Regions from separate parts of the Homo sapiens genome. Here all the other regions are linked to region 4. Evidence: promoter capture Hi-C in 16 types of primary human blood cells and fetal thymus (Javierre and others, 2016). All regions are on one chromosome and are shown on one strand. Each heading gives the region's core, a stretch centred on a gene start or on the middle of the fragment in contact. The rest is flanking DNA. Distances are from core to core; before and after follow the strand shown.

What was found. The method cuts DNA at HindIII sites, captures the fragments that hold promoters and counts their contacts. A CHiCAGO score of 5 or more calls a contact.
Region 1: a fragment that was not itself captured here is called in contact with the fragment with the promoter of USP38 in region 4 in 1 of 17 cell types (monocytes); the score reaches 6.2 in monocytes.
Region 2: a contact is called between a fragment that was not itself captured here and the fragment with the promoter of USP38 in region 4, in 4 of 17 cell types (total CD4 T cells, naive CD8 T cells, total B cells and 1 more). The highest score is 11.3, in total CD4 T cells.
Region 3: a fragment that was not itself captured here is called in contact with the fragment with the promoter of USP38 in region 4 in 1 of 17 cell types (monocytes); the score reaches 6.7 in monocytes.
Region 5: a contact is called between a fragment that was not itself captured here and the fragment with the promoter of USP38 in region 4, in 1 of 17 cell types (monocytes). The highest score is 9.4, in monocytes.

The regions. Positions count from the first base shown.
Region 1 is chr4:140,797,157-140,799,856 of GRCh38, reverse strand. No RefSeq gene overlaps it. Among named protein-coding and RNA genes, the nearest start is that of TBC1D9, 42 kb to the right of the region's middle. The HindIII fragment of the contact is 6,894 bases long and covers 1-2,700 here.
Region 2 is chr4:145,184,545-145,187,244 of GRCh38, reverse strand. It overlaps LOC124900794 (a long non-coding RNA gene), which reads right to left. Exons shown (of 2, transcript XR_007058294.1): 2 at 2,403-2,700. Among named protein-coding and RNA genes, the nearest start is that of OTUD4, 5.3 kb to the right of the region's middle. The HindIII fragment of the contact is 519 bases long and covers 1,093-1,611 here.
Region 3 is chr4:141,138,852-141,141,551 of GRCh38, reverse strand. It overlaps a transcript of RNF150 not described here. Among named protein-coding and RNA genes, the nearest start is that of RNF150, 6.7 kb to the right of the region's middle. The HindIII fragment of the contact is 6,967 bases long and covers 1-2,700 here.
Region 4 is chr4:143,183,503-143,186,202 of GRCh38, reverse strand. It overlaps USP38 (ubiquitin specific peptidase 38), which reads right to left and starts at 1,286. Exons shown (of 10, transcript NM_032557.6): 1 at 71-1,286. The coding sequence starts at 752. USP38-DT (USP38 divergent transcript) reads left to right here and starts at 1,342. Exons shown (of 4, transcript NR_185979.1): 1 at 1,342-1,695. RefSeq lists silencers at 895-1,144, 1,365-1,414 and enhancers at 466-1,350, 1,351-2,236. The HindIII fragment of the contact is 4,447 bases long and covers 1-2,700 here.
Region 5 is chr4:141,158,500-141,161,201 of GRCh38, reverse strand. It overlaps a transcript of RNF150 not described here. Among named protein-coding and RNA genes, the nearest start is that of RNF150, 26 kb to the right of the region's middle. The HindIII fragment of the contact is 7,432 bases long and covers 1-2,702 here.

The DNA.
Region 1 (2,700 bases), core at 5-2,504, 2.4 Mb after region 4:
CAGCCGGGATCTAAGTTGAGGGTAGAGAACAGGATTTCCTGACAGATTGGGCAGGAGGAATGAGAAAAGGAGAGAAGTGAAAGGTGACCCTAAACTTTCGCTCTGAGGGATTGGAAGACTAGAGGTGCCATTCATTGAAATAAAGAAGACTGCAAGAATAACAGATTGAAGGAAGGCGGGAGGAAGATCAGGGCTCATTTTTGTAAGTTTATGGTAAACTCGAGGAAGTTTATAGACAGCCAAGTGGTATGTCAAGTTGGAAATTGGTTATCACAGCTTGGAGTTCAGAAGAGAGGTCCATGGACTAGGCGTGAGGGCTCATGCTTATAATCCCAGCACTTTCGGAGGCTGAGGCAGAAAGACTGCTTGAGGCCAGGAGTTTAAGACAAGACTGGGCAGCATAGTGAGACCCCCATCTCTACAAAAAATAAAATAATAAGCTGGGTGTAGTGGCATGCAGATGTAGTTCCAGCTACTTGGGAGGCTGAGGCAGGAGAATCACTTGAGCCCAGGAATCCAAGGCTGCAGTGAGCCACGATTGAGCCACAGCCTGGGCAACAGAGTGAGACCTTATCTCTAAAAGAAAAAAAAAAAAAAAAAAAAAAAAAGAGGTCCAGGCTGAAATAAACAGCTGCTAAACTAAAAGGAAAAATGAGGCAGGCTGTTGGAGATAAAGATCAATAAGGGTTAAGGATGCCATTCTAGATAGGAGAGCTAAAGACCTCACTGAAAAGGGATATTTGAACAGAGACCTGGTTGAAGGGAAGGAGAAACCCACTCAGTTATCAGAGGGAAGGGGAGCCCAGCAGAGGAAAGAGCACACTCAGGACTAGTGGAGAGCATGCTTGGCTTTGAGAGGAAGAGCCAGAAGTTCAATGGGGTCACCAAGAGATGGCCTGGTAAGGATATAAAACCAGAGAAGTAGCAAGGGATTACATCATGCATTCCAGTCCTTGCTCTGCCACTTGCTAAGAGTACACCCTGGCTGGGTGCAGTGGTTCATGCCTGTAATCCCAGCACTTTGGGAGGCCGAGGTGGGCAGATGCTTGAGGCTAGGCATTTGAGATGAGACCAACCTGGCCAACATAATGAAACCCCAGCTCTACTAAAGATACAAAAATTAGCCAGGTGTGATGACACACACCTGTAGTCCCAGCTATTCGGGAGGCTGAGACAGGAGAAACACTTCAACCCAGAAGGTGGAGGTTGTAGTGAGCCGAGATCGTGCCACTGCACTCCAGCCTGGGTGACAGAGCGAGACCCTGACTCAAAAAAAAAAAAAAAAAAAAAAAAGAGTACACCCTTAGATAAATTACGTACCTTTTCTCAGCTCCATTTTCTTTATAATGGGGTAGTAATGGAACTTACCCACTTAGGATATTGAGAGAATCAGATGAGATCACGTACACAAAGCATTTAACACAGTGCCTGCAGCATAGGTGAAATTTCCCGGGTATTCACTAAGTACATTTCAAAGTGTCCTGCAGCATCTCCTGTGTGGTTTCTGGGTGAATAATTTCATCTCTCTGGGAAGTTTGGGTTTTGTGGTTGGTGTTAGGCTCCTCAGCTCCTCAGCTTCCATTTTGCTGGTCCTGCTGGCACAGTCACCCATCTGGTAGTTTGTCCTTGATAACCACAGCTCATGGGCACTTTCGGATGGGCAGGGGAGTCTGGGAGATCCACAGTCACTGACTTGAATTGCAGATGGTGTGACTCCGTGCTCACCCACAACCTCCAGCTCGTTGGTTCTAACACTGGATCTCCCCCCCGCCAACAAGGGTTACTCCAGGGTTGGCAAGACGTCCAGTCAAGTCATTCCATCCCCAGATAAGCTCTCACCAATCTCTTGGCAAGAAACCCAGTCACATCTGGCCTTGACTAATGATATTAGTCTTCACCCTGAATCTCAAGGGAGCAATGTCCCAGAGGCTTCTACTCTGGATGTTCCTTCCTCCCTACTCAACTGGCATAAAAAGGGGAGGGTTAAAACACAGAAGTTTGCTCTACTTAAGCATAGCTATGTTGGGAAAATGCATTTCATTTCATACATCAAATGTAAGTTAAGACCCCCGACACAATATCCTGGGAACACCCTGATGCAAGGTTAAGGGGGGAAAACTGTAAAGATTGAGGGAAAGAGAGAAAAAGGAGAGCAGATAAAATGAATTTTTATTAAGTCTTACCCAACATTGAGTCAACCATTCAGAAAAAAAAAATCAGATAATATGCTAATGACTACAACCTAGCCAGATGCTAACACACACCCTCTATTGTGCTTCAGAGTGAACCAGGTTCATCCTTTCTCAGGAGAGTCTGACCATTGCTCTTCCAATTTTCAGTACGAAAATGTGATAAGGAATGAGACCAAGTCAAGGGCTACGGAGAACAGGAAAAGCTGAATGCAAGCAACAATCTGACTGTCAAAGACGAACTAAGCTGGACACTAGCTAAAGCCAGAAGGATAGATTTTATTCAGTAATAACTATCGCTATAGGGAAGGAGTCCAGCAGGAACTGAACTTTAGCTTCAATGAAACAGAAGGAAGAGACTTTTTTTTTTTTTTTTTGACAGAGTCTTGCTCTGTTGCCCAGGCTGGAGTGCAATGGCGCAATCTCAGCTCACTGCAACCTCTGCCTCCCGGGTTCAAGTGATTCTCCTGCCTCAGCCTGCCAAGTAGCTGGGATTACAGGCATGCGCCAC
Region 2 (2,700 bases), core at 103-2,602, 2.0 Mb before region 4:
TGAATATGCAAAAGCAAATATACTATTAGACACTTGAAAAAGAAAAAAAGAATCTTAAATTCTACAAGCCTACAAAGAGTTTACAATCCTATTTGGGGAGCTAAAGTAAATACCTTGCAATGGGACTTTGCAAGTTTGCTTCTGTCAGGGTGGAATCAAGAGGTAGTGGTGGAAGGAGAGGTAAATGGTTGGAAGTACGTGGAGGTTTTATTTGCAGAGATAATGGACTATGACTAGCTATAGCTACTTGTGTAAGAGCCTCAGTCTACTGTGAGGTTTATTAGTTCATCCAGCTTAGGCATAGGAATATACGGAAGTCGAAGCTCTAATAAGAAACTAAATCATAGTTTCACTTCTCTAGTCATACAGGTTATAGGGTCTCAGGACTGCAGTCCTAGCTCTGGGGTTTGAAACTTATTCAGTTCATCTGTCTAAAGTGCAGATGGGGGCTCTTTTTTCTCTACTAGGATTGAGTAAGGATCTCATGGCATATACCAACTTTGGTACTACAGAGCAGTCAAGCTACGAAGTGCTGGTACAGTTAAGTAGCATGGCCAACAAGAGATGCTCCCTCATGCGGAGGCTGGATGGTGAGCTAGAAAAGACAGATATCTGAGCATTTGCAGCCAAGCCCCTTGCAAGGTCCTTCTCTAGGTTAGCTCACTTGGCTAATAGATGGCACCAGGGTCCTGGCCCCTTTACCCTTCCTTGTACTTCCTTCCTTCTTTCCTTTTTTTTTTTCTTTTGTAATTTTTTGAATTGATCTTGATGACCATTAAGCCAGAGTGAAATTTTAAAAATTACTTTAAAAACTAAGAAAAGTGGTCTTCTTTTCTTTCAAGCCTTGATCTTCAAACACTCTCCTGCAGTAAGAAGTATTTGCTTCCCATTTTGGGAGATGAAGTCTCCCCTCTGTAATTCTTTTGATCCTTTTGCTCTAGCAAGGAAAAGGTAAACTAACTCATGCAATGTTATTTTCTGCTATGCAGGAATGTATAGTATTGAAGACTTGGAAGGCTTGTGAAGGACTTTGCTAAGGTTGATATTCCAAGTTACCAGAGAAGGTGGGCAATGCGTATAGAATCATAAGCTTACTAGGTAAAATCTTTTACTACTACCAGCCAGTTCCTCCTTGTGATAGCTTGCAAATGAAACACAAAAGCTATAGCATACATTCTCTCCTATCATTTCATTCTGTTGTAAATTTACAGATAAGATTATTTTTCTGAATGATCATTCCTCCAAAATATAAATTGGAAATGTAGTCCCATCACACCAGTTTTTTCCTGATTTTCCTGAGCATTTAACTAAATTATTTCATTTGCAAAAAGTTGGTTTTTATCACCTTGACTATAACTCCTTATTGTTTCTCATCTATTCCACAGAGAATGGATAACGATTAAGCAAAAACAAGAGCTATCTACCATAATAAATGATACATCATTAAATCATTCAGCAAATGTTGTGTTTTTTGAGTATCTACTATTTAAACCCAATGCTTGATGTTAGAGTGCTTGAGGGGGATGGTTTTAAGGGAAAAATGAGTTTACTTTTAGAAATGTGTTTTAGATGGAAATGTCCTGCATGGACTAGAGATAAGACATTAAAGCTTGAAAAAGAGAACAGGGCTAAATAAAGTTAAAACTTGAGACCTGGGGCACCCCCACATTTAGGAGATGGGGAGTGGGGGAGAAAAGGAATCAGCAAAGGAGATATAATCAAGACAAGATATTTAAATAGCTTGACTACACAAGATATCTCACCTTACAAAAGGTGAAGGAGAGTAACAAAATGAAAAGGTGGTCAACACCATCAAATGTAGCAGCTGAAGGGGAATGTGGGTTGGTGAGGGAGAAAGTCATTAGTTGAAATAACACCATTATTTCGATGTTAAAACTTCATATTTTGAAGCCCTTTAACATTTGGAATCTTGCAATTAAGACTTTGGCAATTCCCTAACTTCTCAGAAAAAAGAATTATGGGCCAGGTGTGGTGGCTCACGCCTGTAATCTCAGCACTTTTGGAGGCTGGGGCAGGAGGATTGCTTGTACTCAGGAGTTTGAGACCAGCTGGGGCAACATGGCGAAAACCCATCTCTACTAAAAACACACAAAATATTAGCTGGGAGTGGGGGTGCACACCTGTAGTCCCAGCTACTTTGGAGGCTAAGGTAGGAAGATCACCTGAGCCTGGGGAGGTGAGCCGTGATGGTGCCACTGCACTCCAGCCTGGGTGACAGACTCTGTCTCAAAAGAAAAAAAAAAAGAATTATGTTCTGCTCAACTCAGAAACTCTTATAAATAAATTTAATTTGTCCCAAATGTTATCACTTATTTAATATTTGAGGGGGAAATGTGCTAGAATACATAGACTAAGTAGCTATAATAACAACAGCAGCAACGGTTGGTAAAATAAGTTTATTTCTCACAGTCTGGAGAGGACTGGTTCAAGGATCACAGGCTATGAAGTATTCAGGAGCTCAGTCCTCCATCTCATTGCTCTGTTATCTTACGGTGTTGTCTTTGCATGATCAAAGCTGGGTAACTAGTTTCGTTTTTTGTTTTTTTTTTTTGAGACGGAATCTCCCTCTGTTGCCCACCCAGGCTGAAGTGCAATGGCCGGATCTTGGCTCGCTGCAACCTCCGCCTCTCGGTTTCCAGCGATTCTTCTGCCTCAGCCTCCCGAGTAGCCGGGATTACA
Region 3 (2,700 bases), core at 34-2,533, 2.0 Mb after region 4:
GGAATTACAGGCATGAACCATTCACAATCTTATTCTTAATAAGCTCAAGGAGGAAAACTTTTTCAAAGAGAGAGGAAACCTGTTCTTGTGTCAAGGGTATTGCATAGCTAGCTTCCTCAACCAGAATTTCCAAGTACCTTATCCAGATTCGTTTGTAGACTCCAATAGAGTCAAGCCTAGCAGCAACAGTAACAGAAATGGAAATACAAAATTGTACATGACCTCATTAACAGAATCACTAAGTCCACAGAATGTAAGTTTGAGAGGTCTTTAAACATCATCAATTTCAACACCTTCATTTTACAGAAGAGAAACTTTACAGAAGGTACTGCTCTACTAATTCAGTGTAGATAACAAACATGAAAACCAGCACAGGACCTGGCTTATGGGAAATAGTAAATGCTATTTTCTGTCCCCTGTTCCTTTCCAGTGTCCTTACTATGTGGTGAGAGAACTAGTCAATGGAAATACATTAATGCTGTAGTCTTGTGACTGGCTCTGTGTGATTATGGCTCAGTGGATATTTAGGAATTAGTACCAATAGGAAAGCATGACAAAATGAGTGATTAGTCATGCTGCAGTCTTGACCTAAATAGCAAATTAGGCACAGAGCTGGGATTAAAACTCTGACACCTGTGTTTGCAGTGCTACCGCTGTCTCCCTCAATTGTCCTAGATTGCTGTTTACCAGCCCTGTGGGAATGGGCCTCATCATAAAAGGGAAAGTATTTATGAAAACATCCTTCTAAACAACCAAATAGAAAGGGCAGGAAGAGGGCCTGGATTCTCTCCCCTCTTTTGTGGTAATTTTAACACAGTACAATTTACAGATGCTTGTGTCTAACAGCTGTCCGGCTCAGTCAGTGCACAGTGCTCTGAATGTCTTGGCTTTTAGTTCAACCTCCCTCATTCCAGCTTTTTGGCGAAAAAGGACAAGATGATCTTTCAAAGAGCAGAAAAAGAAAAGCAGATAGTTTTTAAAATGTACTCAATGAAAAGTAATGATTTAGAACAAAAAAAAATGAACAACTATGTGAAAAAATAAGAAGAAAAAGGAAACAGATGTATTGTGGTGAGAGTTTTCTGTGGGTTTTGGCTCAAGTCTCAAATGAGTTTTTCCAAGCTGACTTTCCATATCTAGCCTCCCAAAACATTTTATGACATAAAGTTGTTTGGAAGAGTTTATGATAAAAGGAAAGAAGCCCAAATTAAATGTCAAAATTGTATCAAAGACTGAAATAAAAAGAAGTCACTTGATAATTCAAAGGAGCAAAAAAGAAAAAAGGATATTTTTAGCAAGGTATCCTATTGTTCTGAAATTTAAGAAGTTAGTAAGAGAACAAAGAGCAAAGAAGTGAATATTATTAGTTTCATGCATACTCTCTAAAAAAACGTTTCCAAAACCTTCCATTTCCATCTGCAGTACTTGTAGCAGAAGCTGCAGGGGTTGCTGGGCTCTTAAAGTTCATATACCTTGCCCGTACAGCAAGTACCTGGCCTCAGAGAAGCAACGCGCCCCACCACCAATGCTAAGAAAACTTACGAAAGCAAAAAATGAAGTGAAGGCTTGAGAGCTGAAATGAACAAAGAAATTAAGCAGAGGAAAAAGAAGTGAAGTTCAAATCAGAGTCAAGTTAATGAACAAGATGATGAATATCTGAGACAAAAAGACTACCAATGTGGTAGTATAGCCCTTAAAATCATACCCTAGAGTCAGACTTCCAGGATTACAACCCCCACTCTTATACTTGCTACCTGCATGGCCTCGGGCAAGTTACTCCACTCTTAACTTTTTGTTTCTTCATTTGTGTAATGACCTCATAAAATCATCCTGAGAATTAATTAAGACAGTCTATGTAGTTAATAAAGTGCTTAGAACAAATAGTGCCTGCATGTACATTAAGTGGTCAAAAACTGCAGCTCTTCATTACTATTTATTATTCAACACATTTACTGATGCCTTCTATGGGCCAGACACTGCAGCAGACGCTGAGAATATAGTCATAAGCAGGACATCTTTCTTGAACAGCTCTGCAAGCCTACTCCTTTGTAAGGCTATCTGGGCTAACTGTGATGCAGAATCGACCTGGTTCAATCATCCCTAAATGTTTTCATTTCTATGTGGAATTACTGCTCTCACTGAATTCTTATATGTGTGTTTTAAAAATGACCACACTCCACCTTCACAATTCACCTAGATGATTACATCTGTCGCTAAAACTAGATTCTAAACTTGATGGGAGGAGCCCTGCCATTCCTCTGAGCGTCAGCGCAGGGCCTAACACAGAGATGGCAACCATATAAACATAAATGAATACCCTACTTTATTTTTTCGAGACAGGGTCTCGCTGTATCATCCAGGCTGGAGTACAGTGGCGTGATTGGTCATGGCTCACCACAGCCTCGAACTCCTGTGCTCAAGTGATCCTCCTGCTTCAGCCTCCCAAGCAGTTGGGACTACAGGCACTTGTGCCACCATGCCTAGCTAAATTTTTCTTTGTCTTCTTTTTGTAGAGACAGGGTCTCCCTATGTCGCCTAAGGCTGGTCTTGAACTCCTGACCTCAAGCAATCCTCCCGCTTCCACCTCCCAAAACTGATATTACAGACTTGAGTCACCACACCCAGCCTAAATTGACTTTCCTTAAATATTTTTGGATATTAAAATTTTTAGACTCTGTTCCCTCCTACTCTTCTTGTCCT
Region 4 (2,700 bases), core at 37-2,536:
TGAATGTGTGTGTGCAAGAGAGACATATACTGATTTTTTATGAGATATTCTGAAAGATAATGACCCTTACCTGTGGAAGAGATGCTTGCAAAAACTTCTTGCAGGGAAGGCAGTAGTGTGGCAGGCTCGGCCTTCCAGATGTTCTGCAGCAAGTTACTCACTTTTGTCACCTGGGAGACATATTCCCGCAGCTCTCTTTCCTGGGTGGACACGCACTGGAAATGGCCTATCGTTCGAACCAGCTGTTGACAGAACGTGATGGACAATTTCCCCTTGGGGATGCATTGCACAAAGTCGGTCAGAAGGTCGCTCAGTCGGGCACAGAGCTGCGGCTCCGGCCTCTCACACACCATCCGTAACACCTCTACCTGCAGGAGGCTAAAGAGATCCAGCACCGACGGACAGCTCATAATCAGCTTCAGGCCGTTGTGAATGTAGTCCAGGATGGCTACATCCTTCCTGTCCAGAGAGTGGTAGCCCTGATGAAGGAGGCCCAACACGAAGGTCTTGTTGAAGAAGGACTCGAACTCTGGCCGGTGGTATCGTGCGTAGGCCTCCAGCACCTGGTGCCCCACCTGCCGCTGGAAAGGGTCCTGGCCCTCCAGGATGAGCCGGGTCGTCAGGTCAAACATGGCCTCGCACTGCGCCTCGTCTAGCCAGTGCTCCGCCGATTCCACCACCTTCCGCACAATCACCCGCTTGAGGGGCAGGGGATGCGAGGAACTCACAAGGCCCTCCAGGATCTTGTCCATTGTCGCCACGCTGCAAGGCCAGGGCCAGGGGATAAGGAGCGGGTGGCGGCAGCCCCGAGGTGGGGCAGGAGAGCCCCGGGGCGGAGATGAACTTGGAGCGCCGCAGCAGCAGCGCGACGGGCCACGGCCACCGCCGCCTCAGCAGCCACATTTATGGCGCAGGGAGACCCATCCAAGCCGGGGCGGGAGCTAGCGAGCCTGGAGAGCCTAAGAACCGACACCTGCGGCTGGCCTAAGGCGCCAGAGGCCCGTACTCCGCCGCCGCCCCGGGCCCTCGATCCCACTCAGCATCAGCGCCGAGGGGCCTGTCGGGCCCCCCAGCGGCGTCGGCGGGAGCTCAGGGCCCGGGGCTGCTAGCCGGCGGGTGGAGGAAGCACGCCTCCGAGTTCCGGGTCAGGTGTGGGCGTCCAGTCTCCAGCAGGTCGTGAGAAGAAGCCGGTCCTGGGCTGAGTCAGGAGGCGCTGTCACGGAGAGTGCTGGGATCAGCCGGGGAGAAGAGACCGAAGCGACACCCTTTGACCCGGATTTTGAAGTGCCGGCAAACAGGAAGTGAAGGACCTAAGAACCTCCGGAAGGACCGCCCCTCCGCCCCTCTGCCCCTCCGCCCCTCCGCCTGTCCGCCTCTCTCCTTCTCCCTTGTTCCCTCTCTCCCTCCCTGCTCCCCCACCTCCCTCCCGAGTCGTAGACTCCCTTCCCCCCGGCGCTGGGAGTCTCCTTCCCGCCCCGCCGCGCAGGTGCGGCGACGGCCGCGTCACTGGAGAGTGTGTCGAGTCACAGGCGGTCTTCCGCGCGGAGCGTCCCCGGCGGACGCTGCGCAGATGGCTGCGACTGTAGGATTCTTGCCGGCTAGTCTTCGTCGGTTCCGCCTGCGTCAGGTTACTCGTGAAAACTCGAATAAGTGCTATCGATGTGAAATCCGAGGAAAAGAGCATTTGGGGGAAAAGTAAGGAAAACTCAAAACTCGGATTGAGAAGTCTGCCTTGGCTCATTAATCAAGAATTGCGCTTGCGCGCCTAAATGTGACTGCCTTTATCCTGCGATGTCGGTATTGAAGTAAGAGCAATACTGGCGGCGTACCTAGCATTTAGCGACCATCAGTATCAGTAGCAGGCCTCTAGCAAAGAACCAGTTAGTGAGCTTTGTACCATATCGAAAATTATAAGCCGTCCAAAAAAGTGTGAGAGTAAGGAAAATGGCAGATTAGAATCAAAATATTTTTATACCTGTGTCATACAAGGGTACTTTGAAAATAGAAAACCAGGTGGAAATACCACAAAACTTATTGTATATGTTGACACCGAAGATGGTTTACAATAGGGAAGAACAGGTGCAATCATGCTTGTTCTGTTTCATGCCAAATTCCGAAGATTCACAGTAAGAATTTAATCAGAGGTCTTTATATTGGAAAATATTGCCTAACTGTAGCCTGCTTCAGGCTTGGTTAATATAGTTGTGAAACTAGACATTAAGGCCCTGTAATACAGACAAAACTTTAAAGAAATAGGTCATTTAAAATGTCCCGTAGAAAAATGAACAAAATTCTGTTACTTCAGTTTGCTAAATAGTGTTTTGTTTTTTTACCAAGTTACAAACACGATTACACTAATATATTCACACGTCGATTATGGTAGTCTTAAGAAGAGCAGTTTAGAGGAGACAGGAGCTTGAGTAAAAGGGAACTTAAGACCAAGTTGACTCGTAGGAAGATACGGAAGATAAAAGAGAATTGAGGTAATTAATCTATCAGTCATGCTAGAGACAGGAATGATTTTTCCAATAGGAGGTGAAGGTACACAGATGTTTGTCTTTACTGGGAATAATGCCACAGTGGAAGACAAAGGTAATATAGAAAATAAAATATTAAGAAGGAATTAAGTATTAAGAAGGATCGTGGATTTGAGGTGGAGTGGAGGAAATTTGGAATTAATCTTTGTGCTAAGAAACTAAC
Region 5 (2,702 bases), core at 78-2,577, 2.0 Mb after region 4:
TGAGTTCTCAATAAGTTCCTCATCTTCATCTAAGACCTCATTATCCAGGACTTTAATGTCTATATCACTATCAGCGCTTCGGTCACAACCATTTAACCAGTTTCTAGGGTGTCCCAAATTTTCCCTCACCTTCCTATCATCTTCTGAGCCCTCCAAACTCTTCCAACCTCTGCTCATTACTCAATTTCAAAGTTGCTTCCATATTTTCAGGTATCCTTATAGCAATGCCTTACTCCTCAGTACTAATTTTCTGTATTAGGCCACTCTCTCATTGATATAAAGAAATACCTGAGACTGGGTAATTTATAAAGAAAAGAGGCTTAATTGGCTTACAGTTCCACAGATTGTAGAGGAAGCATGATGCTGGCATCTGCTCAGCTCCTGGGGAGGCTTCAAGAAACTTTCAATCACGGCAGAAGGTGAAATGGCAACAGATATGTCTTACTTAGCTAGAGCAGGAAGAAGTGGGAGGGGGAGGTGCCACACACTTTTAAACAACCAGCTCTTGTGAGAACTCACTCACTCTATAGTACCAAAGAGGGGACGGTGCTAAACCATTAGAAGTCACGCCCATGATCCAATCATCTTCCACCAGGCCCCACCTCCAACACTGGGGATTACTATTTGACATAAGATTTGGGCAAGGATAGAGATCCAAACCATATCATTGATAAATTAATTAATTTTGTTATTTTATGTTTTTCTATGAGTTGACATACTTTTAGATTATCTGTAAAGTTTCACAATGATACTTTGCAAAGACACTTTATACAAAGTTACATACATTTAGATTTATACAAATATACAATAATGATGCTTGGGATAAGATTTATCAGCCTGCCAACCAGCATTTCCCCAGTAATGCAGATTTCTAATTCCTTCAGTCACTTCCTTCCTACAGACTTCCTTTCCATACTTATTCTTGTAACAGTTGATTTGCCTTAGCCAGATAATCTGTGATAACTTCCATTTTCTTTCCTTTCCTTATCTTATGGTATGTTAAAATTTTGATTGGAGCTATGTAATAGTGATTTTTCAAGTTTTAGCATGCATCAGAATACCCTGGAGGACTTGTGAAAACACAGATTGCTGAACCAGCTCAGTAGTTCTGGGGTGGGGCCTGACAATTTGCATTTCTTACCAGGTGCCAGGTGACCCCACTGCTGATGACCTGGGGCAGAGCTTCTAGAATCACAGCTGTAGAACCTTTGGGAATCAAGGATTCTTGCAAAATTATCACAATTGTTGCGAATTGTAACAGACAAAAGTAGGGAGTTTGAAAAAAAAACACACCAGTAAGGACTGGCATTTGACAATGGCTGAAATATTACTTGAACAAATTAGAAAGAAGAAAGACAGGCTGGGCGCAGTGGCTCACACCTGTAATCCCAACACTTTGGGAGGCCAAGGTGGGTGGATCACTTGAACCCGTAAGTTGGAGATCAGCCTGGGCAAACATGACGAAACCCTGCGTTTACAAAAAATACAAAAATTAGCCAGGTGTGGTCACATACAGCTGTAGTCCCAGCTACTTGGGAGGCTGTGGTGGGAGGATCACTTGGGCCCAGAAGGTGGAGGCTGCAGTTAGCCATGATTGCGCCACTGCACTCCAGCCAGGGTGACACAGCAAGGCCCTATTAAAAAAACAAAAAACAAAAAACAACAAAAACAAAAAACAACAACAACAACAATTAGGGGTCAGCAAACTCTAGCCCACAGCCCAAATCTTGTCTGCTGCTTGTTTTGGTAGAGATTGTGAGCTATGTACAAAACTCATATGGCTGAGAGTTTTTAGATTTTAAATTGTTTGGGGAAAAGCAAAAGGAGAATAATATTTCATGATGTGAAAATTATATTAATGTCAAATTTCAGTGTCTACAAACTAAGTTTTGTTGGAACACAGCCACATTCACTGATTACATGTTGTCCAAAGCCACTTTCAAGCTACAATGGCGAATTAGATTAGTTCCAACAGAGACCCTAGATGACCCACAGAGCCTAAAACATTTTCTTACCCAGTTCTTTACAGAGAAAGTTTACTGACCTCTGGTCAAAAATTTGGAAACAGCTTGTTAACCAAAATAATACCAGCTGTTGAACTTCTCTTCATTTAAAGTGATAATGTGGTTTTCTAGCTCCAAATAGGGGCTGTAGTTTACAGCATTTTCCAGATTGGCTTGGCTGAGAAACACTTTCTTTTATGAAACGATTCACACCATACATATTTTAAAGAACACCAAGTTGGGAACTGCCATTTCAAAGCACCCTCAAGATGGTAACATAAACTTAACAAAAAGGAATGAAGAACTAATGGCAAAATTTCAGATTATCTGTGAATAAATTGGAAGGATGGTTCAGGTAAAAAGAGGTTTTGAGTTCTAAATGTCTCACAAATTATACTCACAGGAAATACTGATAGTTCTTCCTTGGAATATAACAATGTGGGTTGGGGTGGTGGGGGCGGGGTAGGGATAACTTTGAGGAAAGAACCTTATCTATTAACACTTCCACTATCTGTACATTGTAAAAATGAAATGGTAATGATAAATGAGCAGAAATGTCACAGAAAAATTTGACTATGTCAGTTCAGCAGAATGTTTGGTAAATGTTAATACACTAAGGATGAGCTTTCTATAGTTGTAATTCCTAAAGCCTTGGGAAATCAGTAAATGTTATATAACAACTATTACTACCATTTCTCT